Linked DNA regions of Homo sapiens: all the other regions are linked to region 4. The links are contacts of gene promoters, found by promoter capture Hi-C in blood cells and fetal thymus (Javierre and others, 2016). All regions are on one chromosome and are shown on one strand. The core of a region is centred on a gene start or on the middle of the fragment in contact, and the rest is flanking DNA. Distances in the headings are between cores, read along the strand shown. Region 1 overlaps DCTN1-AS1 (DCTN1 antisense RNA 1). Region 2 holds the start of C2orf81 (chromosome 2 open reading frame 81). Region 3 holds the start of RTKN (rhotekin). Region 4 holds the start of PRADC1 (protease associated domain containing 1).

Region 1 (2,700 bases), core at 131-2,630, 1.2 Mb before region 4:
TAAGGGGGTGGACTGGGAATCCCTATGGTGAAAGAGTGTGTGTGGTTGTTAAATATTATATCCAGCATTTTTAGTTGCAGTATATCAGAAGTTTCCGTAATATTTAGTCCACGGTAGCACCAGAAATGGAAGCACTTAATTTGTTCCTCTCTCCCTCCTTCCCTCCCTTTTTTCCTTCTTTTATTCTTTCCTTTCTTGCTTGCTTTTGCATTTGAATACCTAATTGTCCCAGCACCATTTTTTGAATGGTATATCTTTCCCTCACTGATCAATAATACAAATTTTGTCATATATTAAGTTTTTGGCCTGGTGTGGTGGCTTGCACCTGTAATTCCAGCGCTTGGGGAGGCCAAGGTACGGGAATCACTTTAGGCCAAGAGTTCAAGACCAACGTAGGCAACATGGCAAGACCCCGTATCTACAAAAATAAAAATAAAAAAATTAGCCAGGTGTGGTGATGACTGCCTGCAATCCTAGCTACTCAGGAGGCTGAGGCAGAAGGATTGCTTGAGCCCAGGAGTTAGAGGTTACGGCTATGATCACACTACTATATTCCAGCCTGGGTCACAGAGTGAGAACCTGTCTCTAAAACAATAATAATAATTTTAAAAAACGAAGTTTTTGTAGGTATATGTTTTAGTTTGTTTTTAGATCTAGACTCTTTCTATCCCTACGTCAATACTATATTGCTTTACTTAATAAACTTTAAAATAAGCACACACACACACAGCCACACTCTTTTTTTTTTTGAGATGGAGTCTTGCTCTGTCACCCAGGCTGGAGTGCAGTGGCGCAATCTCGGCTCACTGCAAGCTCCACCTCCTGGGTTCACACCATTCTCCTGCCTCAGCCTCCTGAATAGCTGGGACTACAGGCGCGCGCCACCATGCCCGGCTAATTTTTGTATGTTTAGTAGAGATGGGGTTTCACCGTGTCAACTGTCTTCTTTTTTTCAGAAGTTTCCTGGCTAATTTTTTGCCCTTTGCTTTTCTCTACAAAATTACTAATTTGTTGTCAAGTTCCTAGAATATCCTGATAGAATATTGATTGGAGTTATCTCAAATACATATTATTAATACAGGGCAACTAACTTCTTTATGACTTTAAATTTTCCTATTCATAAGTGTGCTATATCTCTCATTCATTTAAGCTACCTTTTTTTTTTTTTCCAGATGGACTCTCGCTTCTTTGCCCAGGCTGGAGTATAGTGGCACGATCCCTGCTCACTGTAACCTCTGTCTCCTGGTTCAAGCGATTCTCCTGCTTCAGCCTCTTGGGTGATTACAGGCGGGTGCCAGCACACCCGGCTAATTTTTGTATTTTTAATAAAGATGGAGTTTTGCCATGTTGGCCAGGTTGGTCTCGAACTCCTAACCTCAAGTGATCCACCAGCCTTGGCCTTGCAAAGTGTTGGGATTACAGGCGTGAGCCACAGGCTATCTTTAATGTATGTTTCCAAATATAATTTTGTAATTTTGGGTTGTGCACATCTCTCATCTCTCAGTCTTTTTTATTTTTTTGAGACGGAGTCTCTCTCTGTCACCCAAGCTGGAGTGCAGTGGTGCGATCTCGGCTCACTGCAGCCTCCACCTCCCGGGTTCAAGCAATTCTTCTGTCTCAGCCTCCCAAGTAGCTGGGATTACAGGCATCACACTCAGCTAATTTTTGTATTTTTAGTAGAGACGGGGTTTCACCATTTTGGCCAGGCTGGTCTCGAACTCCTGACCTCAAGTGATCTGCCTGCCTCGGCCTCCCAAAGTGTTAGGATTACAGGCGTGAGCTACCCTGCCTGACCACCCCACCTTTTTTTTTAAGACGGAGTCTCGTTCTGTCACTCAGGCTGGAGGGCAGTGGCACAATCTCGGCTCACTGCAACCTCTGCCTCCCGGGTTCAAGCAATTCCCCTGCCTCGGCATCCTGAGTAGCTGGGATTACAGGCGCGTGCCACCATGCCTGGCTAATTTTTGTATTTTTAGTAGAGACGGGGTTTTACCATGTTGGTCAGGCTGGTCTCAAACTCCTGACCTTGTGATCCGCCTGCCTCGGACTCCCAAAGTGCTGGGATTACAGGTATGAGCCACTGAGCCTGGCCGGGTTGTGCACATATTTTGTTGTTTATTACTAGGTGCATCAGTTTCATTTCAAAAATTATATAATTTAACTTTTCATTGTTGGTTAGAGAAATGCAATTGAGTTTTGCATGTTGATTTTATATCTAGTCACGTTGCTAAATATTTTCTAATCAATCCTAATAATTTACAGATTATTTTGGCTTTTTTTTTTTTTTTGAGATGGAGTTTTGCTTCTTCGCCCAGGCTGGAGTGCAGTGGTGCAATCTCGGCTTACTGCAACCTCTGCCTCCCTCCCAGGTTCAAGCAATTCTCCTGCCTCAGCCTCCCAAGTAACTGGGATTACAGGTACGTGCTAGCATGCCCAGCTAATTTTTGTATTTTTAGTCGTGATGGGGTTTCACCATGTTGGCCAGACTGGTCTCGAACTGCTGACCTCAAGTGATCCACCCACCTTGGCCTCCCAAAGTGCTGGGATTACAGGCGTGAGCCACTGCACCCGGCCTATTTTGGCCTTTTCCATGTAAGTCATCATATCATCTGTGAAAAATGACAGTTTAATTTCCTTCTTTCTAATCTTTATGTCTTTTATATACGTTTTTCTTGCCTTGATGCACTAGTTCAAATACAG
Region 2 (2,700 bases), core at 131-2,630, 1.2 Mb before region 4:
GTCTGGAAGCCTGGCAGGGAAGCTGAGAAGGCTCTGGTGGGGCAAGCAGGAGAGTCCTCTTCTTACCTGTATTCCTCGATGTGAGGTGAGTACCAGCAGCACTCGGAAGGGGAGGACACACCAGTGGACCTGGAGGGAGGTGCATCAGTGTAGGGAGAAAATCAAAGCAGGGAAGATGAGTTTGTTTGTTTTTTTTTTTTTTTTGGGGGACGGAGTCTTGCTCTGTGGCCCAGGCTGGAGTGCAGTGGCGCCATCTCGGCTCACTGCAACCTCAGCCTCCTGGGTTCAAGCGATTCTCCTGCCTCAGCCACCCAAGTAGCTGGGATTACAGGTGCACGCCACCACACCCGGTTAATTTTTTTTGTATTCTTAGTAGAGAAGAGGTTTCACCATGTTGGCCAGGCTGGTCTCGAACTCCTGGCCTCAAGTGCCCGTCTCAGCCTCCCAAAGTGTTGGGATTACAGGCGTGAGCCACCGCGCCCGGCAGGAGAGGGGAGATTCTGAGGTTAGGACATGCCTGGGGAGATTCTGAGGTTAGGACATGCCTGCTCCTGAAGGTTTGGAGAGAAAAGGCTGGGGGTAGGACTGGGTTCAGCAACATCACTCCCAGCTCCATGCCTCACCTGAGTGATAAGTGGGGGACTCACTCCAGCACCCTCCTTAGCGTGGAGCTGGCGCTGGGCCAAGGGCACACCCTCAGGAGCAGCGCTGAGAAGCTGGGCGCTTGGTCCATGAACCACGCCAAAATACGTGAGGTTGCGAGCCGGCAGCTGCAGCACACTGAGGTTGTTGCACAGGGCGGCGGCCGAGCCTCGCAGGGGAATGGAGCGCTCCCAGCGGAACATCCTGTGTGGGGGTGCAGCCGAATCACCAGGCGCGCTACAAACAGACGCAGCGGAGATGCCCGAGGGCGGCTATCATCGAGCATTTCGGAAGATGCCTGAGACTGGGTCATAGGATGGGGTGCCCAGAGGACGGTGATGGGGGAGGGTCTCGAGGAGCAAGACAGGGGAGTCCCAGGGCTGTTTTGGGGCGACGGGGGAATCGCAGAGGAGGAATGGGGATGACACAGGACCACCCGATGGCCCCAAGCCCGCGAGCCAAATAAGTGTGATGAAGCCCCCAAGGCTTTCTCCCTCGGCTCGGATCCCTGAAGCCCCCGGCCTAGATCAGAGGTAACACCTGCAGCCCCAGATCGGCTCGCCTGACTCCTGGTTCGTAGGGTCCCTCCAAATCCGCCGCCACCATAGAGACGACGCACGTACGCACGGCCCTTGGGCGGGGTGAGCGGCCGGAACGTGCCGCGGGCGGCGCGGTTGCCGGGGCAACTGTGGGCGGGGCGAGCGACCCCGAGCCCGTGGTTGCCCAGGCGACTGTTAGGTGGCTTACGCGGCCCGGATGCAGCAGAAACACCAGCGTTGCTGCGACCGCGTTGGCGATGGCGCACGAAGGCTCGGTGAGCTTCAGTTCAGCTGGGGATGCGCCAGAGCCAGGGTCGGCCGTTAAGGTCGGTGTCGGGAACAGTGGGCTGGCTCTGGGCCGCCCAGTGCCCCTACTTGCTCCCGCCCACCGCGCGGGAGTTTAGATGACCAAGGAAGCCACGTCGGTACTCGGGCAGAAAACCTACACCTGCACGGTGCCCACTCAAACGCTTTGTTACACTCAAGCCATGAGGGAAAGGGTCAGTGGGTGGTGTAGAGCCCGAGAACAGGAAGTGGATTTTGAAACAGCTAATGAATGTAGTAAGTCTCTTACATGGTGGTGCGTATTTAAATGGATGAGCATTTAGAGAGGGAAGATAACAGAAAAAATCTATTTCGAGAATTTCAAGAGGAAGAAATATATTAAATAATTCAGAGACTGCACTTGAAAGTCAAATTGTTTAAGAGCCAATCAATTTTAAAATAAAGAAAACGGGGCCGGTCTCAATGGCTCATGCCTGTAATCCCAGCACTTTGAGAGGCTGAGGCGGGAGGATTGCCTGAGCTCAGGAGTTCAAGACCAGCCAGGCCAACATGGCGAGACCCCGTCTCGACTAAAATACAAAAAATTAGCTGGATGTGGTGGCGCGGTGCCTGTAATCCCAGCTACTCGGGAGGCAGAGGCAGGAGAATTGCTTGAACTCGGGAGGCGGAGGTTGCAGTGAGCCGAGATCGCGCCACTGCGCTCTAGCCTGGGTGACAGAGAGAGACTGTCTCAAAAAAAAAAAAAAAAAAAAAAAAAAAAGAAGAAGAAGAAAGAAAACGGATTTGAAGAGCCTTTGTGCAAAAATATCTCTGTCCCTTCTGGTCACCATCACGGGTGTCAGATGCGAGGCTGGGAGGGGAGGTCTAAGGAAACAACTCTCTTTACTCAGTCCAGTCAGCCCTGCTCTAGTCAAGCTTGGCCTGGGCTATGGGCCACTCCTGGTGCTTGCTACAGGGCTGTTCTCACTGGTGGATAGGGTTAATGAGACTTCAGGGATTTTGAGTTCTGCAAGACTTAGGAAACAGCAGATTTGGGGGGATAATGAATTTTAGGAAACAGATATGAGACAAGGTTTTAGCGGGGCAATAGGCAAAGGTTTGGGAAGATCACATTTGGAAGTACATTTTGGAAGGAACCAGGTTCAGGGAGACTGTTGTGGGGAATTGAGGGAGCTCCCAAGAGATTGTTTGTAAACTTTTTATGTCTCTAAAGTGAGTTTTGGGGACTAGTCTT
Region 3 (2,700 bases), core at 177-2,676, 1.2 Mb before region 4:
GTGAGTCGAGATCATGCCATTGCACTCCAGCCTGGGTGACAGAGTGAGACTCTGTCTTAAAAAAAAAAAATTAAAATAAATAAATAAATAAATAAATAAAAATAAAAAATTATACATATTTGTAATGCTTTTTAAGAGATGGGGTCCCACTATGTTGCCCAGGCTGGACTTGAACTTTCGGGCTCAAGCAATCCTCCCACCTTAGCCTCCCGAGTAGCTGGGACTACAGGTGTGCACCACCATGCCAGGCCAATTTGTGTGTGTGTGTGCGTGTGTGTGTGTGTTTTGTTGAGACAGGGTTTCATGTTGCCCAGGCTGGTCTCCAACTCCTGAGCTCAAGAGCGATCAGTCCCCCTTGGCCTCCCAAAGTGCTAGGATTACAGGCTTGAGCCACTGCACCCAGCCATCTTTTTTTTAGACGTAGTTTCGCTCTTGTTTCCAAGGGTGGAGTGCAATGGTGGGGTCTCAGCTCACCACAACCTCTGCTTCCCGGGTTTAAGCGATTCTCCTGCCTCAGCCTCTCAAGTAGTTGGGATTACCGGCATGTGCCACCATGGCCGGCTAAATTTTGTATTTTTAGTAGAGATGGGGTTTCTCCATGTTGGTCAGGCTGGTCTCGAACTCCCAACCTCAGGTGATCCACCCTCCTAGGCCTCCCAAAGTGCTGCGATTACAGGCGTGAGCCACCGCGCGCAGCTGCTCTTTATGACTGCAAATATGGGGCACTTGCCTTGTGCCAGGCACTATGCTGGGCATTTTACCCTCATTCTTATAGGTAATCCTCATAGCAACTTGAGGAGTGGAGATAATTACAGTATTCCCACTGAACAAATGAGAAAACTGAAGCTCAGAAAGGCCAGTGACTGGACCAAGTTAATGATTGCACGGTTAGTTAGTGACAGAGCTGGGGTTTCACGACGTGTTTAAGCACCGCCCCATCAGTTGTGGCCACTAGGCTTAGGCGGATAGCCTCGCAGAGGAGCCTAGGTGGGGAGGGGGACGAAGAAGGAACATTTGGGACTGTGGGATGTTGAAATGGTCTCTTCGGAGGCTGCCGGGATTGAAACTGGGCAAGGTCCCAGGGCCCGAGTAGAGCCAGAGCGTGCTACGCGGCGATCCCTGAGCCACGGGGTTTTCAGCGCCCGGGAAGCCAGGCTTGCCAGGTTGGGGCGGCTGGCGGGGCAGGGCTTCTCGGTCCGTCCCAAGTCCAGGTAGGCGCTCGCGACCCGCGCGGGCAGGGAGAACGCGCTCCCACAGTGCTCGCGAGGTGCAGTGCGCCCCTGGGGGCTCCGGGGCCGTCGGGCCAGGTCGGCTTGGCGCCCAGGGACTGGCCGGACGGGCTGGGCCTTTGGCGGGGGTGGAAGAGGAGGTTGCCGCGCCCTGCCCGGCCCAGGTGTCGTCTCCGGGGGCGGGGTTTGGAGCCCCGCAGCGGGAGATTCCCGGCCGGACTGGCGGACGAGCGTCGAGAGACAGAAGCCGAGGAGAGGAGGCTAAGCCGGGCGGCGCGGGGAGCGCACTGAGCAGGCAAAGTCGCAGGGCCGCCAGCATGTTCTCCCGAAACCACCGGAGCCGGGTCACCGTGGCCAGGGGCTCCGCCCTGGAGATGGAGTTCAAACGCGGCCGCTTCCGACTCAGCCTCTTCAGCGACCTGCCCGAGGTGAGAGACTCGCGTCCCTGCCTTCCCCTTCCGCGGCTCCCGGGGGCAGCCCCAGCCACCTCGGCCTCCTTCCCTCGCCCGCGTGCACGCCGAGGGGCGGAGACGCACGGTCTGGGTACAAACCCGACGGAGTTGTTGACTTAAAAAGTAAGGTGTGGACGGTCTGCATTTTCATCGGATCCATGCTGCCCATTCCGCGGCCTGGTTAGGATTATCTGCCTGAGCCTGGAAAAAGCCCGGGTTGGTCTCAATTTGTAGGGCCCCAGCTCGACTCCTAAAATGTGCCTGAACCCCAAAATGTCTTGGGCATCCCCGGGCCAAGGGCGGTGGGCAGCTAGGCGGGCCCCAAGCGCTCGGACTCTTGGCCTGGGCTCCCGCTTGTTCCCCAGTCGCCAGCCCCATCCCACAACCTGTCGCAGCCATCTGGGCCAGCCTCTGTCATCAACCCCGACTTTAGGCCGGGGCCGCTCGCTTCCCCGAAGCCCAATTCAAAGGCTCCTCTATGCCCCTGCAGGGCTTTTAACTCCTTGGGGTTACTTCCCACACGCAAAATTTCCGCCTCCTTTTCTGGGGCCTAAGAGGAGTCCAGCCCCTAGGCTGAGCGTTTCCCCCGTCCGCCGTCCACGCGTTAACCTGTTGGATCCCCACCTGTAACGCCCTAAGGGCTAGGGCGGGGCTGAAGGTGTGTGGTTGAGCGGGGACTGAGAGGGCGAATAGCTACCCCGAAGACTCTTCTGTCCCCAAGGTCAGACTCACACTCGCCCAAGGAGAGCCCAGTTCCAAGCCTTCCCTTCCGGGTCTGGAAAGGGTTAAGTGAGGTGGGCCTTCCTTCCGCCCCCTCTACCTCCCGGCTGGGATTCCAGGCCTGGCTTCTGCCCTTTCCCTCCAGCCTGCCCAGAACAAAGAGGCTCTTTCACACCCTTGTCCCGGCGTCCCGGGCCTTCTCTGACTCAGAAGCTAGTGGACCTGGGGAGAGGGGGCCTTTGTCGCGTCCCCTTGCCCCCAAGCGACTGGGCCCGAGGAACCCGCGTGGGGCCAGCGTG
Region 4 (2,700 bases), core at 47-2,546:
GGCTGGCTGGGGTCGCCCCTAAGCTGGGGATCTGGGCGAGGACAGAGGCGGCAAGCAAAAGAGGGTCCTACAGAGCAAGCCCAGGCCGAGCGGCGCCGGCCACCGGCCAGATGGCAGCTGATGGCGACGGATGCGCGAGACGCCACTCACCATCATTTTGGAAGCTTATTCAGCGGCCCGCCACTCTCCCCTCTTCTCCGAGACCGGGCCGCCCAGCAACCCACAATGCCTCGCGCAATAGAAATACCCAGAAGCTTGGGCCGGGAGAGGAAGAGAACGGACCACTTCCGCTACTCTATGGTTCGTTACCACCGACTCGGTGCGGCTAGAAGGACCTGAGGCTGGGCTTCGGGGACTCTCTAGTGAGGGGCGTTCATTAAAGAGGGGTCGCCGCATTTCGGTCGTGCTTCTTAGAGCACGGAGGGTCTTTGCTCGGCCCGCATCACCTACTAACTTAATTCCACCCTCCTCCATCCCCGGACGCCAGACCAAGGAATGCAATAAAGGCAAAAGTGTGGGACGCAAAGTGTGGGATAGGCTGGTGCCAAAGCACTTTACGTGAGCGATCTCATTTAATCCTCACAACCCTATTGCGTTGGTCCTATTAAGGCCATTTTACTGATGACAGAAAGGAGGCTGAGAGGTCAAGGTGTCCAGTGTCACAGTTACATAGTCAGTGTCAACGGGACGAGCGTGGGAAGCTGCCCCCAATGCCCGTTTTCTGGCTTTGCACTGGCCAGAGGCTCCTCGTGGATGGCGTGCGCCAGGCCGCGGCCCCAGCGCCTATCCACGGTGAGCGCGCAAGCGTTGGTGGCACTGGGCGGAAGACCCCCTGGCGCAAGACGAGTGCCTTCCCGTGAAGGCGTGGGGAGGAGGGAAGCGCAGCTGGGAGGAGGGAAGCGCAGCTGGGAGAAGGCTAATCGTCGTCAATCGAGGCGGCCTTGGAGTGGACAGGACCGAGACCGCAAGGGTTAACGGCCTCGACTATCGACAGCTGAAGCAAGTCCGGCTACGGGCACACCTCCAGTGCTTGTCCTCCCTGGCCCGCCCACCGCCAGCGAGGACCCGGAGAGTATGCTGGGGCGGGGCTGAGGCGAAGGCCGGTTGTAGCTGTTAAGAGTTTAAGCCAATCAGCCCCCGGCTCCACTTCTCTCGACCAATAGGAAGTAGGCTAAGGCGCAGAGGCGGAAAGTGTGGCTACATGAGCAGGCGTCAGAGCCAATCAGCCTTGAGCCTCGTTCCCGTCGTCCAGCCCGCGGCGAGAGCGGGTATGTGGGCGGGAGGCCGGAGCAGCTGTCAGGCTGAAGTCCTGCGAGCGACGCGCGGCGGGGCGGCGAGAGGAAACGCGGCGCCGGGCCGGGCCCGGCCCTGGAGATGGTCCCCGGCGCCGCGGGCTGGTGTTGTCTCGTGCTCTGGCTCCCCGCGTGCGTCGCGGCCCACGGTGAGCGGCAACGGGTGGGACTGCGTTGCAGGGCGGGGCTGGCCGTCCAGCTTGCGCGCGTCTCGGGTTGGGGGCCAAGGGTCACCTTGGGGACCCTGCGAGTTCAGAGCAGGACAGGTCTGGGAGCGGGCGGCCGGAATAAGTGGGTGGTGGTCCAAGGACATAAAGTGGGCGCAGCCTGAGGCTGAAGCTCTGACTCCTCACCTTCCCACGACAAAGCAGATCTCCCCACTCGCCCCTCCCCGCCCACTAGCGCCGACCCAGGTGACTTAGGGTGCGACCAGAAGGGACAGCTAAGGAAGGATACTACAGGCTGGAGATATGTATGTGAGCATTCACATGTACACAGGAGCACACATTCCTACACGTGGGCACACACGCACAAACCGTTTACACCTACACAAGCACATAAATGTATACATCTATGCACATAAGTGAGCACATACGTATACCCACAACTTACACAAATAAGCACACACAAAGGCAAGCAAGGGTTGGGGAGGAGGGAGTGAGTTTGACGCTAGTCCAGGAAGGCTTTCTGGGGGTGTATTTGTATCCGAGAGGGAGTCCCCACTCCCAGGACTGTATAGCCCAGTGCCAAGCCATGGGAGCTCTAACTGATGGCTGTGATTTGGGCAGTAAACAAAGACAGCTAAAGCCTTAATGCCATCCTTGGTACACAGTAGTGACTTGGTAGTTTGTTGATAGACTAACAGACTTGTGACAGCAGTTTTCTTTTTTTCTTTTTTTTTTTTTTGAGACGGAGTCTTGCTCTGTCGCCCAGGTTGCAGTGCAGTGGCCCGATCTCGGCTCACTGCAAGCTCCGCCTCCCGGGTTCACGCCATTCTCCTGCCTCAGCCTCCCAAGTAGCTGGGACTACAGGCGCCCACCACCACGCCCGGCTAATTTTTTTGTATTTTTAGTAGAGACGGGGGTTTCACCGTGTTAGCCAGGATGGTCTCGATCTCCTGACCTCGTGATCTGCCCGCCTCGGCCTCCCAAAGTGCTGGGATTACAGGCGTGAGCCACCGCGCCCGCCCATGACAGCAGTTTTTATCTTTCAACATTCCGCAGTCTCTCTGGGTTAAGGAAACCAGGGACTCAAGTCCAGGTACAACATTAAACTTTGGTGCTGAGGAGAAGATCCCATGCCCCAGAAAAATCTAGTGGTCTGGAAATTCTCTTCATCGGTGCTGTGGAGCTAGATATAGTTGTTCACCCATTCAGGAAAGTTTATAGGGCTATCCCTATATTGTAGC

Evidence for each region. Contacts are between HindIII fragments. The CHiCAGO score rates a contact against its expected background, and 5 or more counts as called.
Region 1: a fragment that was not itself captured here is called in contact with the fragment with the promoter of PRADC1 in region 4 in 1 of 17 cell types (neutrophils); the score reaches 5.8 in neutrophils.
Region 2: a contact is called between the fragment with the promoter of C2orf81 here and the fragment with the promoter of PRADC1 in region 4, in 1 of 17 cell types (naive CD8 T cells). The highest score is 6.2, in naive CD8 T cells.
Region 3: the fragment with the promoter of RTKN here is called in contact with the fragment with the promoter of PRADC1 in region 4 in 1 of 17 cell types (naive CD8 T cells); the score reaches 5.1 in naive CD8 T cells.

Annotation. Positions count from the first base shown.
Region 1 is chr2:74,397,174-74,399,873 of GRCh38, reverse strand. It overlaps DCTN1-AS1 (DCTN1 antisense RNA 1), which reads right to left. Exons shown (of 3, transcript NR_158174.1): 3 at 1,206-2,700. Among named protein-coding and RNA genes, the nearest start is that of DCTN1-AS1, 13 kb to the right of the region's middle. The HindIII fragment of the contact is 2,857 bases long and covers 1-2,700 here.
Region 2 is chr2:74,420,299-74,422,998 of GRCh38, reverse strand. It overlaps C2orf81 (chromosome 2 open reading frame 81), which reads left to right and starts at 1,380. Exons shown (of 3, transcript NM_001316764.3): 1 at 1,380-1,456. The coding sequence starts at 1,439. It overlaps WDR54 (WD repeat domain 54), which reads right to left and starts at 1,269. Exons shown (of 10, transcript NM_032118.4): 1 at 1,183-1,269; 2 at 624-846; 3 at 67-129. The coding sequence starts at 845. RefSeq lists an enhancer at 590-769 and a silencer at 1,170-1,449. The HindIII fragment of the contact is 12,224 bases long and covers 1-2,383 here.
Region 3 is chr2:74,440,663-74,443,362 of GRCh38, reverse strand. RTKN (rhotekin) reads left to right here and starts at 1,426. Exons shown (of 12, transcript NM_001015055.2): 1 at 1,426-1,657. The coding sequence starts at 1,547. RefSeq lists silencers at 1,336-1,415, 1,726-1,785, 2,501-2,700. The HindIII fragment of the contact is 8,784 bases long and covers 1-2,700 here.
Region 4 is chr2:73,231,835-73,234,534 of GRCh38, reverse strand. It overlaps PRADC1 (protease associated domain containing 1), which reads left to right and starts at 1,296. Exons shown (of 5, transcript NM_032319.3): 1 at 1,296-1,441. The coding sequence starts at 1,375. CCT7 (chaperonin containing TCP1 subunit 7) reads right to left here and starts at 227. Exons shown (of 12, transcript NM_006429.4): 1 at 151-227. The coding sequence starts at 156. RefSeq lists enhancers at 340-409, 530-579, 221-752 and a silencer at 1,040-1,249. The HindIII fragment of the contact is 3,259 bases long and covers 257-2,700 here.